Linked DNA regions of Homo sapiens: all the other regions are linked to region 2. Evidence: promoter capture Hi-C in human tissues and cell types (Jung and others, 2019). All regions are on one chromosome and are shown on one strand. The core of a region is centred on a gene start or on the middle of the fragment in contact, and the rest is flanking DNA. Distances in the headings are between cores, read along the strand shown. Region 1 overlaps CAMK2B (calcium/calmodulin dependent protein kinase II beta). Region 2 holds the start of ZMIZ2 (zinc finger MIZ-type containing 2). Region 3 holds the start of PGAM2 (phosphoglycerate mutase 2).

The links. Contacts are between HindIII fragments. The study calls those that stand out against the background at their distance.
Region 1: a fragment that was not itself captured here is called in contact with the fragment with the promoter of ZMIZ2 in region 2 in 1 of the 25 tissues and cell types used here (dorsolateral prefrontal cortex).
Region 3: the fragment with the promoter of PGAM2 here is called in contact with the fragment with the promoter of ZMIZ2 in region 2 in 1 of the 25 tissues and cell types used here (dorsolateral prefrontal cortex).

The regions. Positions count from the first base shown.
Region 1 is chr7:44,214,178-44,218,200 of GRCh38, forward strand. It overlaps CAMK2B (calcium/calmodulin dependent protein kinase II beta), which reads right to left. Exons shown (of 24, transcript NM_001220.5): 24 at 2,977-4,023. YKT6 (YKT6 vesicular SNARE protein) reads left to right here. Exons shown (of 7, transcript NM_006555.4): 7 at 1-117. Among named protein-coding and RNA genes, the nearest start is that of YKT6, 15 kb to the left of the region's middle. RefSeq lists enhancers at 1-879, 3,289-3,836, 3,837-4,023. The HindIII fragment of the contact is 6,682 bases long and covers 1-4,023 here.
Region 2 is chr7:44,746,958-44,750,994 of GRCh38, forward strand. It overlaps ZMIZ2 (zinc finger MIZ-type containing 2), which reads left to right and starts at 1,890. Exons shown (of 19, transcript NM_031449.4): 1 at 1,890-2,034. RefSeq lists silencers at 1,385-1,914, 2,025-2,134, 2,145-2,194 and an enhancer at 3,975-4,037. The HindIII fragment of the contact is 31,122 bases long and covers 1-4,037 here.
Region 3 is chr7:44,063,885-44,067,639 of GRCh38, forward strand. It overlaps PGAM2 (phosphoglycerate mutase 2), which reads right to left and starts at 1,683. Exons shown (of 3, transcript NM_000290.4): 1 at 1,232-1,683; 2 at 948-1,128. The coding sequence starts at 1,645. It overlaps DBNL (drebrin like), which reads left to right. Exons shown (of 13, transcript NM_001014436.3): 13 at 1-3,755. RefSeq lists enhancers at 266-375, 1,020-1,079, 1,270-1,319, 1,380-1,449 and a silencer at 2,630-2,699. The HindIII fragment of the contact is 10,392 bases long and covers 1-3,755 here.

The DNA of each region.
Region 1 (4,023 bases), core at 481-2,980, 530 kb before region 2:
TCCTGTTGTGTTCTGTTGTAAATCATTTGGCGAGACTGTATTTTAGTAACTGCTGCCTAACTTCCCTGTGTTCTATTTGAGAGGCGCCTGTCTGGATAAAGTTGTCTTGAAATTTCACAGTGGTCCTGTGCTTTCTTTGTGCTTCAGGGGAATCCTTTCTTCACCAAGCCCTTCCCCCGGGGGAGAGAGTGGCCTCATGCTGTGTGCCTGTGGGCCTGCCGCATGCAAGGGTCCAAGTTATCCTGACCAGCTCCTGTCCAGGAGAGGTAGCTGCAGGCCTGACTCCTTCACCTCCTTTCTATAGACCTTGCTAGCAGGAACTGTATTTTCTTTTTTGCTGTTAACCAGGTGAGGGAGCCCTGGAGTAGAAGAAGCCCTGTCATTGCTGAATCCTGTTGCCTGGTCTTAGCTGCAGCCAGGAGACCCACCCTAGGAAAGCTGCCTCATAGCTGCAGAGCCATGGGACAGGAGGCCCCATCCCCATCCTGATCCCGCTGTAGGCTTCCTGTCCCTCACCGCTGACCCCAGGGTCAATCTGAGACCACCTGGCATCCCACCAAGCACAGGTGGCAACTTTTCAGGAGCAGAGGGGGCTCCACAGGGTACCTGGAAGCTTCCTGGTTCCTGGAGGAGCCAAAGCTGACCCCTGCTTTGGTTGGGAGGTGAACCAGGGGTAAGTCAAATTCAAGTCTCACATCTGGTTTTGAGTTCAGGGAACCCTCTGAAGCCTCTGTAGCCTCCCAGGGAGGCGGGCCCAAGGCTGCTTTCAGCCTGTACTTCTGATCCTGGAAGGCAGAGACCTCTCTGACTGGCCCAGCAAGCAGCCTTGGGCAGTGCTCAGCTTTTCCTGTTCTGAGGACCTGCCAGACCTGGGTTGGGGTGGGATGGGGTAACCCTTAGGGTCATGTGGCCCAGGGAGCTTTGTTCAGAGGGTGCTATTTAAAAGTGATGAATGGGCCGGGTGCAGTGGCTCATGCCTGTAATCCCAGCACTTTGGGAGGCTGAGGTAGGCAGATCATTTGAGGTCGGGAGTTCGAGACCAGCCTGACCAACATGGTGAAACCCCATGTCTACTAAAATACAAAAGTTAGCTGGGCATGGTGGCGGGCACCTGTAATCTCAGCTACTCGGGAGGCTGAGGCAGGAGAATCACTTGAACCCAGGAGGGAGAAGTTGCAGTGAGCCAAGATCGCGCCACTGCACTCCAGCCTGGGCGACAGAGTGAGGCTCCCTCTCAAAAATATATAAAAATAAAAGCGATGAATGAAATGCCCGTCGGTGGTGTCCTTTTTGCCTGTAGCGCTTGGCCCAGTACAGGGTGGCTTAGCCCTGTGTGCTGTGCCCTAATACCTCATCAGAGTTGCTGCCCTGATGGCATCTGCAGAAGGGCCTCAGGAATAATGCATGTGAGGGCGCACGATCCGCAGTGCCTGCAGCCTTCCTGGGGGAGGCCTGGCCTGGAAAGCCTCCTCCGATTACAGCTGATAGGCAAGTGGAGCCCTAGATACCATGCTGGGGACAGACACTGCAGCACTCGTGGGCACTGGCCTAGATTCTTTGCACCTGGCTCTTGGGACCTGCCACCTGCCCACCCACACACCTGAGAGCACCTGTCCAGGTGCAGACCATGGGGAGCAAGAAGCTGACATCCAGGGCCACTCTGCCGCGTGAAGGTGCTCAGGGTGGAGGAGGAGACTGAGGGCTTTAGCCAGTTCTGGGGGATCCTTCAGGCTCCTTGCCCATAGTGGATAGGACTGAGAGTGTGTAGGGGCACTCGTCTTGTCAGAAGTTACTTGGACCCAAAATGCAGGTGTGTTTAGTGTCTGGGACTGTTTTGAAGCCCATCCTTCTGTTTAGGAAAGTGCCGTGGCACTGCCTGGGACACAGGTGTGGAGGGGAGCCAAGGGCAGGGCCACACTCTGAGCAGGTTGCCATGGAGACATGAGGGTGCATCAGGGGGCCCAGCGGGGGCCACGAGGGTGCGTCGGGGAGGGAGGAGGGCATTGAGGCTGAGAAGGGCCAGCATAGCACAGGCAGGTGCAGTTGCTTTCCCAGGCTGGGCCTGAGCGTGTGCCCCATGGGGCCAGGCAGCATAGGTGGTGGGTGGAGCCTGAGGACAGGAGAAACTTGGCAGGGGGTTACTCCTTACTCCAACCTAAGAGTTTGCGCTTAGCTTGGGCTGGAGATGCAGAGGGAAGGCCTCAGGGGTGCCTGTCTCCTTCACACCCAGGACGAAGTCCCCAAGCCTGGCCTGGCCCACAGGCCTGTAGCACCTGGCCAGTCTGGCCTGGTATCTGGCTTCCCTGTCTCCATTCCAGCTCTCTGTCCTGGATTCTGGGCTGGTTGTGTGGCCTCTGCTGGAGCCTCCTGGCCCCCATGGTGGCTGCCTACTGTATCACCTTGCGCCTTGCCTATGTCTGGTGCCCGAGGCTGATGTCCACACAGGCCTGCGTGCCATCTGTCTGCATAATCCACTGGGGTGGAGCCCGGCTCTGTGGTCACTGTGTGTCCTCAGCATCCAGAATAGCCAATACATGTAGCAGGGGCGGAAGGAAACAGCAGGACAGCCAGAGGTCTTGGTCCTGGGGCTCCTTCCTGCCCAGAGGCTGCCCTGGCCACATCCTTAGCGGCCACCGGGGGTGAATGGAGAGGTCAGGGGTGTTGGGGGCTGGGATCCAGTTTCAGTTCCAGCATTCAGGGTGGACAGCGCTGGGCCCAGAAGACTTCAGAGGACCAGAGGAAGAGGTGGAGACAGCTGGTAGAGCTATGATCTATGACTAGTGCCCTACCTGGGGTGAGCCGTTCACCCTAGAGGGGCTCAGGACTGTCAGGGCCAGCTCAGGGCTCCCATAGCACTACCTTTCATTGGAGGAGGGGCCCAAGTAGGGTCTTGGCCAGGGACCGGGCTTGAGTCTGTATTTTGGCGCAGGAGGTCGGCAGGATTCCAGCTAAAGCACCCAGCTGCACTTGAAGCAGTTTGTCCTGTTTTTCTTTTATTTGCAGTTTCCCGAGACAGAACAAAATAAGAATAATTTTTGTACACTTACAAGGCTCAGAAAGAAAAGACAATGAAACTCAGCAAAAAGAGAGAGGAGGGGAGGCCAGCCAGCACCGTGGGCAGCCGACCCCTTGCAGCGCTGGCCAGCGGCCGCCACCACCACACCGCGGACACCTAGCTAGCAGACCGGTGTGGCTTGCTCTTTAGGGGTCATGCAAAAGAATTATCCCCCAGAAAAAAAATCCCCAAATTATCCCAGACAGGCAGCTCCGTGGAGGTGACAAGGTGAGAGGGAGAGGAGGGGAGGAGGCCCCAGGACGCCAGGGTGGCCGGCTGCTGGGCCACGTGCTGTCCGTGGTGAGCCCTGCCGCTGTCCCATGGCCCAGGGAGCCACTGGTGCGGAGCCCGGCAGATGTTTACCCTGTGTTCATGGATGGGGACAGCTGTCCTGGGCACAGCGTGGACGGAAGATGGTGTCCACTCTGAGTGTTCATCGGTGGACAGTCCCCTTGGAGTTTAGGATCCTGTGTCCTGTTCCCCATTCTGTGCCCCTCCCTTGGCTTGATTTGTAGGGGAAGATAAAGAAAATCCTTGTTGAAAACAATGTGAATTGAAAGTGGGCAGGCACTGGGGCAGGAGCCCCTGACCCTCTGCAGTCAGGGCTTGTGACCACCCCCACCCAACCTGGCTTCAGACCCACCCTGCAGCCCCACCATGCTCGGGCTTGCCCTGTCCCCGAGCTCCCCCATGGTACACACCATCACAAGGGGCCGGGGACCCACCGCCTCGAACCCAGGCAGCCGACGCTCAGGAGCACAGGGCTAGACCCTGCCCTCCATCCGCTGGTGTCCTGGGCCCTGTGCCCACCTGTTTCTGTCCCCAGCCCGCCTTATCTCCATAGCTGCATCCCTGGCCCACCTAGAAGGTGCCCTCACACGCACTGCAGCCCGCCAAGGCACTGGCACACCTGACACTGCACGGGCAGCACTGCCCTCACGCCTCCCATGTGCCCTAGGCTGGCTCCC
Region 2 (4,037 bases), core at 640-3,139:
CCCCTCTAACATGCTTGCTGTATGGATGGAGGGGCCTTATTCTCCTGGTTCCTGGGGACAGACCAGTGTTCACAGACCCCAGACCAGGGACTGTTGTACAGCAGGCCTGCCATATTTGTTCAATGAACGAATGATTCCCAAAAGAAATAGAGCACAGAGTTCAGAGGCGGCCTTCAGGGAAGAAATTTCAACAATGTCAAAAATTAATTGTGGAGTATCCATTGATAGATGAATGGATAACTTAAATGTGGAATATGCATACAATGGAATATTATTCAGCCATAAGAAAGAAGGGGCTGGGCGCCGTGGCTCACGCCTGTAATCCCAACACTTTGGGAGGCCCAGGCAGGCGGATCACGAGGTCAGGAGATCGATTCCATCCTGGCCAACATGATGAACCCCGTCTCTACTAAAACACACACACAAAAAAATTAGCCAGGCGTGGTGGCGTGCCCCTGTAGTCTCAGCTACTCAGGAGGCTGAGGCAGGGGAATCGCTTGAACCTGGGAGGTGGAGGTTGCAGTGAGCCGAGATTGCACCACTGCACTCCAGCCTGGCGACAGAGTGAGACTCCGTCAAAAAAAAGAAGGGAAGGGAAGGGGAGGGAAGAAGGAAGGAAAGAAGGAAGGAAAGAAAGAAAGAAAGAAAGAGAGAGAGAAAGGAAAGAAAGAAAGAAAGAAAGAAAGAAAGAAAGAAAGAAAGAAAGAAAGAAATTCTGACACATGCCACAACATGGATGGAAGTGAGGACACTGTGCTAACTAAAGTAAGACTGTCACAAAAAGACATATAATGTATGATTCCACTTATACGATGTCCTTAGAGTAGTCTAATTTAGAGACGAATAGTGAATGCCAAAGGCTAGGAGGAGGAAAGAATGGGGAGCTAGTGTTTACTGGGTATGGAGTTTCCATTTGAGAAGATGAAAAAGTCCTGGAGACGGTTGGTGGTTGCACAAGAATGTGAATGTACTTGGTGCCACAGAACTACACTTGGAAACAGTTAAGATGGTAAGTTTTACGTTATGTGTATTTTACCACAATTAAGAAAAATTAATTATGGGTAGTTGAGAGAATGTGGTCTTCCTCAACTTACGGTAGGAAAAGTCAAGAATAACTTAAAGGCTGATAATAGCATTTCAAAGATCGAAACTGATCAGAGAGGCTATTCCATCAGGCTAGACTAGCTCAATAGTGACTTTTTCCAGAAGGAGAACCACTGGGAAGAGAGAACTGAGCAGTGAGGACAGCGAACTTGTTAAGTTTAGTTTTCTGCTTTAACGAGGGGCTTCCGGAGTCCTTTAATAAGATCCCCTCCCAAAAGTGGCACCCTGGGTCTCTCTGTCTCCCAGTCGTGTCCCCGCCCGCCGGGCCAGAGCAATGGACTCCCAGGAAGCAGGGGGGGCGCGGGCGGGGCGCGGGCGGGGCGGGTGGGGGAAGGGCAAGGACTCACTCTTCCTTTCCTCCTCCGCCGGGGCCCGCCCCGAGCCCTGGCCCCACCCCGGCTCTCTGGATCCGCCTCCTCCTCCCGACCCCGCCCCGGCACCTTGGCCCCGCCTTCCACTCGGCCCCGCCCCGGCGTCCTGGCCCCGCCTCCGCCGCCCGGCCCCGCCCCGCTCCCGGCGGACTGCGAGCAGGAAGAGCGCAGTGGCTCTGCCGACGCCGCGTTCAGAAAGGTGTGGAGGGGGCTGGGGGCGCAGGTCGCGATCAGGCTGCGTCTCCTGCCCGCCCAGCCACCTGCGGCCCTGGCCCCACCCTGCCGCTTTGGGCCGCTCGGGCTCGCGGCCGCCCCCGCCCCGAGCGCCGGCTCGGGGCTCTGCTGCTCTGGCCTGGGAGGCGGGGCCGGCTGCGCGGCGTCATGCATATGCATGAGCGGCGCGGCGGCGGCTCCATTGTGCCCTCGGAGCGGGCGGCGGCGCGATGGCGCGGGTGGCGGCGGCCCCGGGGCGGCGGGCGGCGCGGAGGGCGGGCTGAGCGCATGGAGCGGCGCGGGCCGGGGGCCGCCACGGCGAGGGGCCGGGCCAGGCCGGGCGGAGGTGAGCGGGGTCCTGGGGGTGGCCCCTGGCAACGCCGCCAGCAGGCAGGTGTGGGCCGGCGGGGGCAGGCAGGTGCGGCAGGTGCGGGCCGGCAGGTGCGGGCGGGCAGGCAGGTGTAGCTGGTCGCCCGGGGCGCCCCGGTTCCGCTGCGGCGCCACGGTAGGGTTCACAGCTGGGCTGGGGCTAGAGGCTCTGCCGCCCACCTGCCGGCACCTGCCACGCGTGCGTCGTGGTCTTGGGCAGGCTCGGCCCCGTGGGCGTCAGGGTCATCCAGCCCTCCCCTGAGTCTTTGTTGGAGGCTGGCCGAGGGGTGTAAGCGGCGCTCGGGGTTCTCCTGAGCGATGAAGGCTGGCCGGGCCTTCGCTCCAACCTGATCGTTCCTAGCTTTGGGGCCAGGCAGTCTCACCTACATGGTACGCCCCTCCGCTCCTACTTACGTGCCCACCAGCACGGCGATGTGGGGGCCGTCTGAGGCCGTCACCTGCTCGCGGAGGAGCTGTTCCGCTCCTGGGCTGAACGACGCTGAGCGGCCAGCCCCCAGCTGCCAGTTTTGATGGGGACACCCCTTTCCAAACTGGACATACTGAAGCTCAGGCGTGAGGATGCCCTGCTCCCCTGAGGTGCCTTGTCTTCCCTAGTGCCAGGTGTCCTTCACCGCGGCACCCCCACCCGGTGCCTTGTTTACCCCTCCACCTACCGTGTCTCTCCTCCCATTCCCTGGACCCTCTGCCCTGCAGTGTTCTGCCTCTCCTTCTCCCTAGGGTACCCTCTTTCCAGTATTACAGAACATCCATGGTGGTGTCTTTAATTTGTGTCATCGCAGATTTCACAGGGACACACACGGAACATGTGACTTGGTCTGAGACCGTGGTGATTACGGATAGGATGGACACAGACTCACCACCAAGTTCTGGCAAGCTAGAACCAGAGGGCATCCCTTGATGCTTAGTGTGGAAACAGGAGAAGTGAAGGAATCTTAACTTCCAGAGGTACTGACCTCTAGCCCTTGTCATGCCCAGGGGATAGTTACAAGCTGGAAGTGTAAATGAAGAGAACAAGCAGGTGACAGTTGCCGGTTGTAGATTTCTGAAGGACAGGCCTAAGATGTTTGGGGAGCATCCTGATTATTGGGATTGAGCTCCCAAGGGCTGATGACATGAAGGTGGTCATGTGTCCTCAGTCCTAGGATGCTACCAGATATCCATCTTACACATTGTAAACTGATGCCAGGTTAAGGTTGTCCCTTCAGCTGTTCACTGAAATGTCTCATGCCTGGGCCATTGCTTATTCCTGGACTTTTTGATGAACTCTGCATCCTGACTTAGCCCCACGCTTAGACATTTTAGTACTGTGGCCTTACAGGTAGAGGGGGCAGGACTTTCAGCTACCTGTATATGTGAGTACCCCACTTTTTGCTACCAAGGACCCCGCTCCTGCAACATTCCACAGCCATCATTTCTTCAATACCCTTTGACTCCATTGTCACCTGGGTTGGATCCTGACCCTGCAATCTTGGAGACAGTGAGTCCTGATGTGTGACCTATTGAGAAGCGTTGCCTGCCACAGGGCCCACTTGCTGGTCCTGCTCCTAGCTGACTAGGCAGGCAGAGAGGTGGCATGGAACAAGGCTCAGGAGGTCAACCAGGAGACTTGGGGGTGCAGCTACTCTGGGACATTTGGGGAAGAGAGGTCTGGGGTAGTGAGTTCTGTAACTCTGTCTAGAGGAAGATGTGATCTGACCCCCGAGAAAGCCTTGTGGCCCTCTAGACTGACCTTGTCCATCTCTCAAGGGGTCCTAGCTTCCAGCTGGAGTTAGTTTACAAGGAAAGCGCCAGGCACTAAGACCCTTGGTGGGCATGGGCCTTGCATGATCTGGGATCCAGATTCCAGGCTCCAGGCTTGTTCCCAACCCAGACTCAAAGCCAGGAGATGAGAAGAGGATCTGCACACACACAACGCAGAACACTATCCTATCATCAGGGGCACAGGGTCAAGGATACCAG
Region 3 (3,755 bases), core at 433-2,932, 680 kb before region 2:
AGTCTCCGGAAGGGAGAGGAGGCAGGTGGTCCTTCCCTCTGCCTGGCCCCAGTGCCAGGTGCCAGGTGTCCGTGTTTGGAGCGGGCAGGCTTGGGGCTGGCTGGGTCTCCGGGGCCTGCCGGTCTGGGTGCTCTGGCCAACTGCCCAACGGCCCTAGGAGCAGGAGGTCTGGGGCACACCCTTCTAGCCTTTCCAGGACTCAACAAGCTTTAAGGTCATTCAGATGCTAATTTAGACTGCCCTTGTGTCAGAATACTAAGGTGGGAGGCGGAGCGGAGGTGCCAGTCACTCTGGGCGAGGCCTTACTGCGCCCATGCATCCCGGGCCCATTTGTCAGCCCTTGCTCTTCAGTGGGAGCCCAGCTGCAAGCCCAGAGTCTGGCCACTCCATAGTCCTGCACCCCTCTTTTGATTGGTCTTTCCTTTGCCCAGAGAGGGGCTCCAGAGGGAGATAGGTGGTGAAGCTCATGCAGGGATTCTGAGGACCTGATGGGGGAGGGCCCTGCGAGGGGTCCAAGCCTACATCAAGAGGAATTCAGTACCAGGGGGAGCTCCCCACCACCCCGGAAAAGGGAGAGGCCCAGAGATGGAGGTGGCTTGTCCAGGGCCCCACAGTAAGTTGGGATTTGGAGCCAGATGCTCTAAGCCCAGCCCTTCCGTTTCCTAGCTGGGTGTCCCTTGGCAGATGCCACCTTTGGAGCCTGCCCCACCTCGGGACACAGCGAGCTTCGAGTGCAGTCAGCCCCTGTGGAGTGTGTCCCAGTTACACAGAAATGGGGAAAATTTCACAAAACTAAAAAATGGCTTCTCAGCCCTCCTTTTTCAGTGAATGATGTGGAGCCCCACGCCTAGAAAGCCTGGTCCATGGGCGAGAGACTTTGCTGAGATGAGAAGCCAGCTGGGGCTGCTGCCCACCCACCCTGCCCAGGCTCCTGAAGGTGGCCTCACCTTCCAGGTGCTTGACAATGCCCCGCAGGCTGTTCCCGTGGGCTGCAATGAGCACTCGCTTGCCGGCCTTGATCTGGGGAACAATCTCCTCGTTCCAGAAGGGCAGGGCCCGGGCAATGGTGTCCTTGAGGCTCTCGCAGGTGGGGAGTTCCCCGGGCTTCAGGCCTGCGTACCGACGCTCCTGGGGGACACAGGCACGCTGCTTTCCCTCCCAAGCCAGTGGGCCCCCACCCGACTCCCCACTCTGCAGCTTCCCAGAGGCCTTCCCAGCAAAGGCAGCCCACCTTGCTAATGGAGTTGTAGTAGGGGTGCTTCTCGTCCATCGGGGGCGGCGGGATGTCGAAGGAGCGCCTCCAGATCTTCACCTGCTCCTCCCCGTGCTTGGCGGCCGTTTCTGCCTTGTTGAGGCCTGTGAGGCCCCCGTAATGCCGCTCATTGAGGCGCCAAGTGCGCACCACAGGCAGCCACATCTGGTCCGTGCCGTCCAGGATGGCCCAGAGGGTGCGGATGGCCCGCTTCAGCACTGACGTGTAGCAGATGTCAAACTCCATCTTGGCATCCTTGATGGCCTTGGCTCCCCGCTTGGCCTCCTCGGTCCCCTTTTCACTCAGCTCTGCATCGAACCAGCCACAGAAACGGTTCTCCTGGTTCCATGTGCTCTCGCCGTGCCGGACCATCACGAGGCGGTGAGTGGCCATGGTGGCAGCAGGGACCACAGAGGACTCTGGACGGGGACGGCTGCTTCCCAACACTCCCAGCTTTATAATAGTGTCTTCCCAGCCCCCACCCACCCCAGCCAACTGCCAATCAGCATTCCAGGCGGTGGCAGGTGACCAGTAGCTGAGCTGCTGGGGGCTGGGGGCCAGGGGAGTGTGCAGGCCAAGAGGCTGTGCTTAAAATAGCCCCACGCATCCACCAGCTCCTGGCCTGGGTTCAGGTGGCATGTCTATAACCAGCTGGCACCCAGAGCCCAGACTGAGTGGGGCTGCTGGTCAGGGATGGGCGTGAAGGGCAGAAGTCTGGGCCAGGGGAGATGGGGATAGCAGGGACAGAGGGGCTCTCCAGGGCAACGCTCAGTGGCCTATCAGCCATTCTCTGCTCAGACAGAGGCACAAACAAAATCCCAACCCCTTTCTCCTGTGATTGGCAGCCAGGCTAGGAGGCGGCCCTCAGCAGGCAGAGGAGGAGAGCCAGAGGAGCTGGTGCAGACCACAGCTTTGTGGAGAGGAGTCTGGCCTTGTGGAAGGTACCAGGCAGCAGCAGCAGAATGGGCAAGGGCTGGGGCTGAGCCGGGTTTCCAGGACAAAGGGGGAAAGGGCCCCTGTCTTTCCTCCGGGGTCCCTTTGTCAAGGTCTCATCCATACATGCCCCATGCTCCCACCCTATCTGCCCTCACCCAAGCCACGCTCACTCTCCTAGCCGAAACCACCTTGAAAAAGAGAAATCCAAGGGGGTTTGGGGGCAGGACTGAGGACTGTCAGAAGTCTTGATTGTTAGGTAAATGCTCAGCTTAGCAGGAACCCACAACGTAGGCTGAAGGGTGGCACGGAGTTGAGTCTAGGACCAAGACTTCTGCATTCAGGTTTGGGGGATGAGAGCCACCAAGGCAGGGAAGAGACTATGAGCAATAAAGTCACAATTGGGGCCCTAATGAAGGGGCCATGGCCAGACCCTTGGGCATGGGCCCCATCCAGGGCCTCCCATTTCCTCCCACCCCAGTGACCACACTGTCACCTGCGACACTTCTGATAACAGGAGCGGGTAGGTGAGAGGCCAGCAGAGGGACCACCACTCTGAGACTTGGATCTGAGTGTGCAAGAAACCCTCGACAGGCCTCCCTCCATCCCTGCTGGCCTACCTGGGGAGGGGCTCCTGGCTTGGGGCCTGTGAAGCTAAGGCTCTGTACCCAAAGGTTGGCAGACAAGTCCCAGTGGGCAAAGTCCTGTCGGCTGCCAGGACCCCCAAGGCTGGCAGGTGGAACCCATCCCTCCTAGCAGTGCCATGCGCAGGTCTCACTGTTCCACACTGATCCTGATTGAAGCCACATCTCCTCATCTGCTTTTGTCCCTTTGACCAAGAGTTGATTCACTAGCCCAACTAAACATGACTGAGGACCAGGCTCTGGCAGTCCCACAGGGGCCAGACATGAAGCCCATATTTCAGTGGAGGAGGGATCGTACCAGCAGCTAAACATGCCTACCGTAGATAGCACCAGATGCTAGGAAGGAAGGACCATAATGTACTGGGAGAGATGGGAAAGGAGAGGCCGGGGACAGCCCTGAGGTGACATGTGAGTGGAAAGAGCGGAGTGCAAAGGCCTCAGCTATGATGAGTCCTACAGGGAGAGCAATTCAGGTAGAGGGGTTGGCAAAGACCCAAGCCCTACAGAAAGCAAACAAGCTGGGGCAGCGACCATCAGGGGCACATGGCAGAGAGGTGGGCTTTGTGTCCCAACACAGTGGGAATCACTGGAGACTTTGAAGCATGGTCATATTTTCAAGTCACTTGCAGCTGTGTAGGAGTGGAAGTAGAAGCTGAGTACCCTGCAGGTCTCGGCAGCTTTGATGAGAACAAGGCCGCTTAGCCAGGGCTGGGTGCAGAAGCAGTGGCAAGGATCCCCCAGACCTGGGAGACCTCACTGCCAACCAAGCAGGAGGTGTCAAAAAGGAAAGGGGAGCCCAAAGAAGGGCTGGACTTCGGGGAAGCAAGCCCCTGCTTCTGACCCTTGGCTCCGGCTTGACTTTCCTTTGATTCATTTGACAAGTAGTTGCTGGCCTCTGCAGTGTGCCAGAGCTTTCTTGGAGGGGT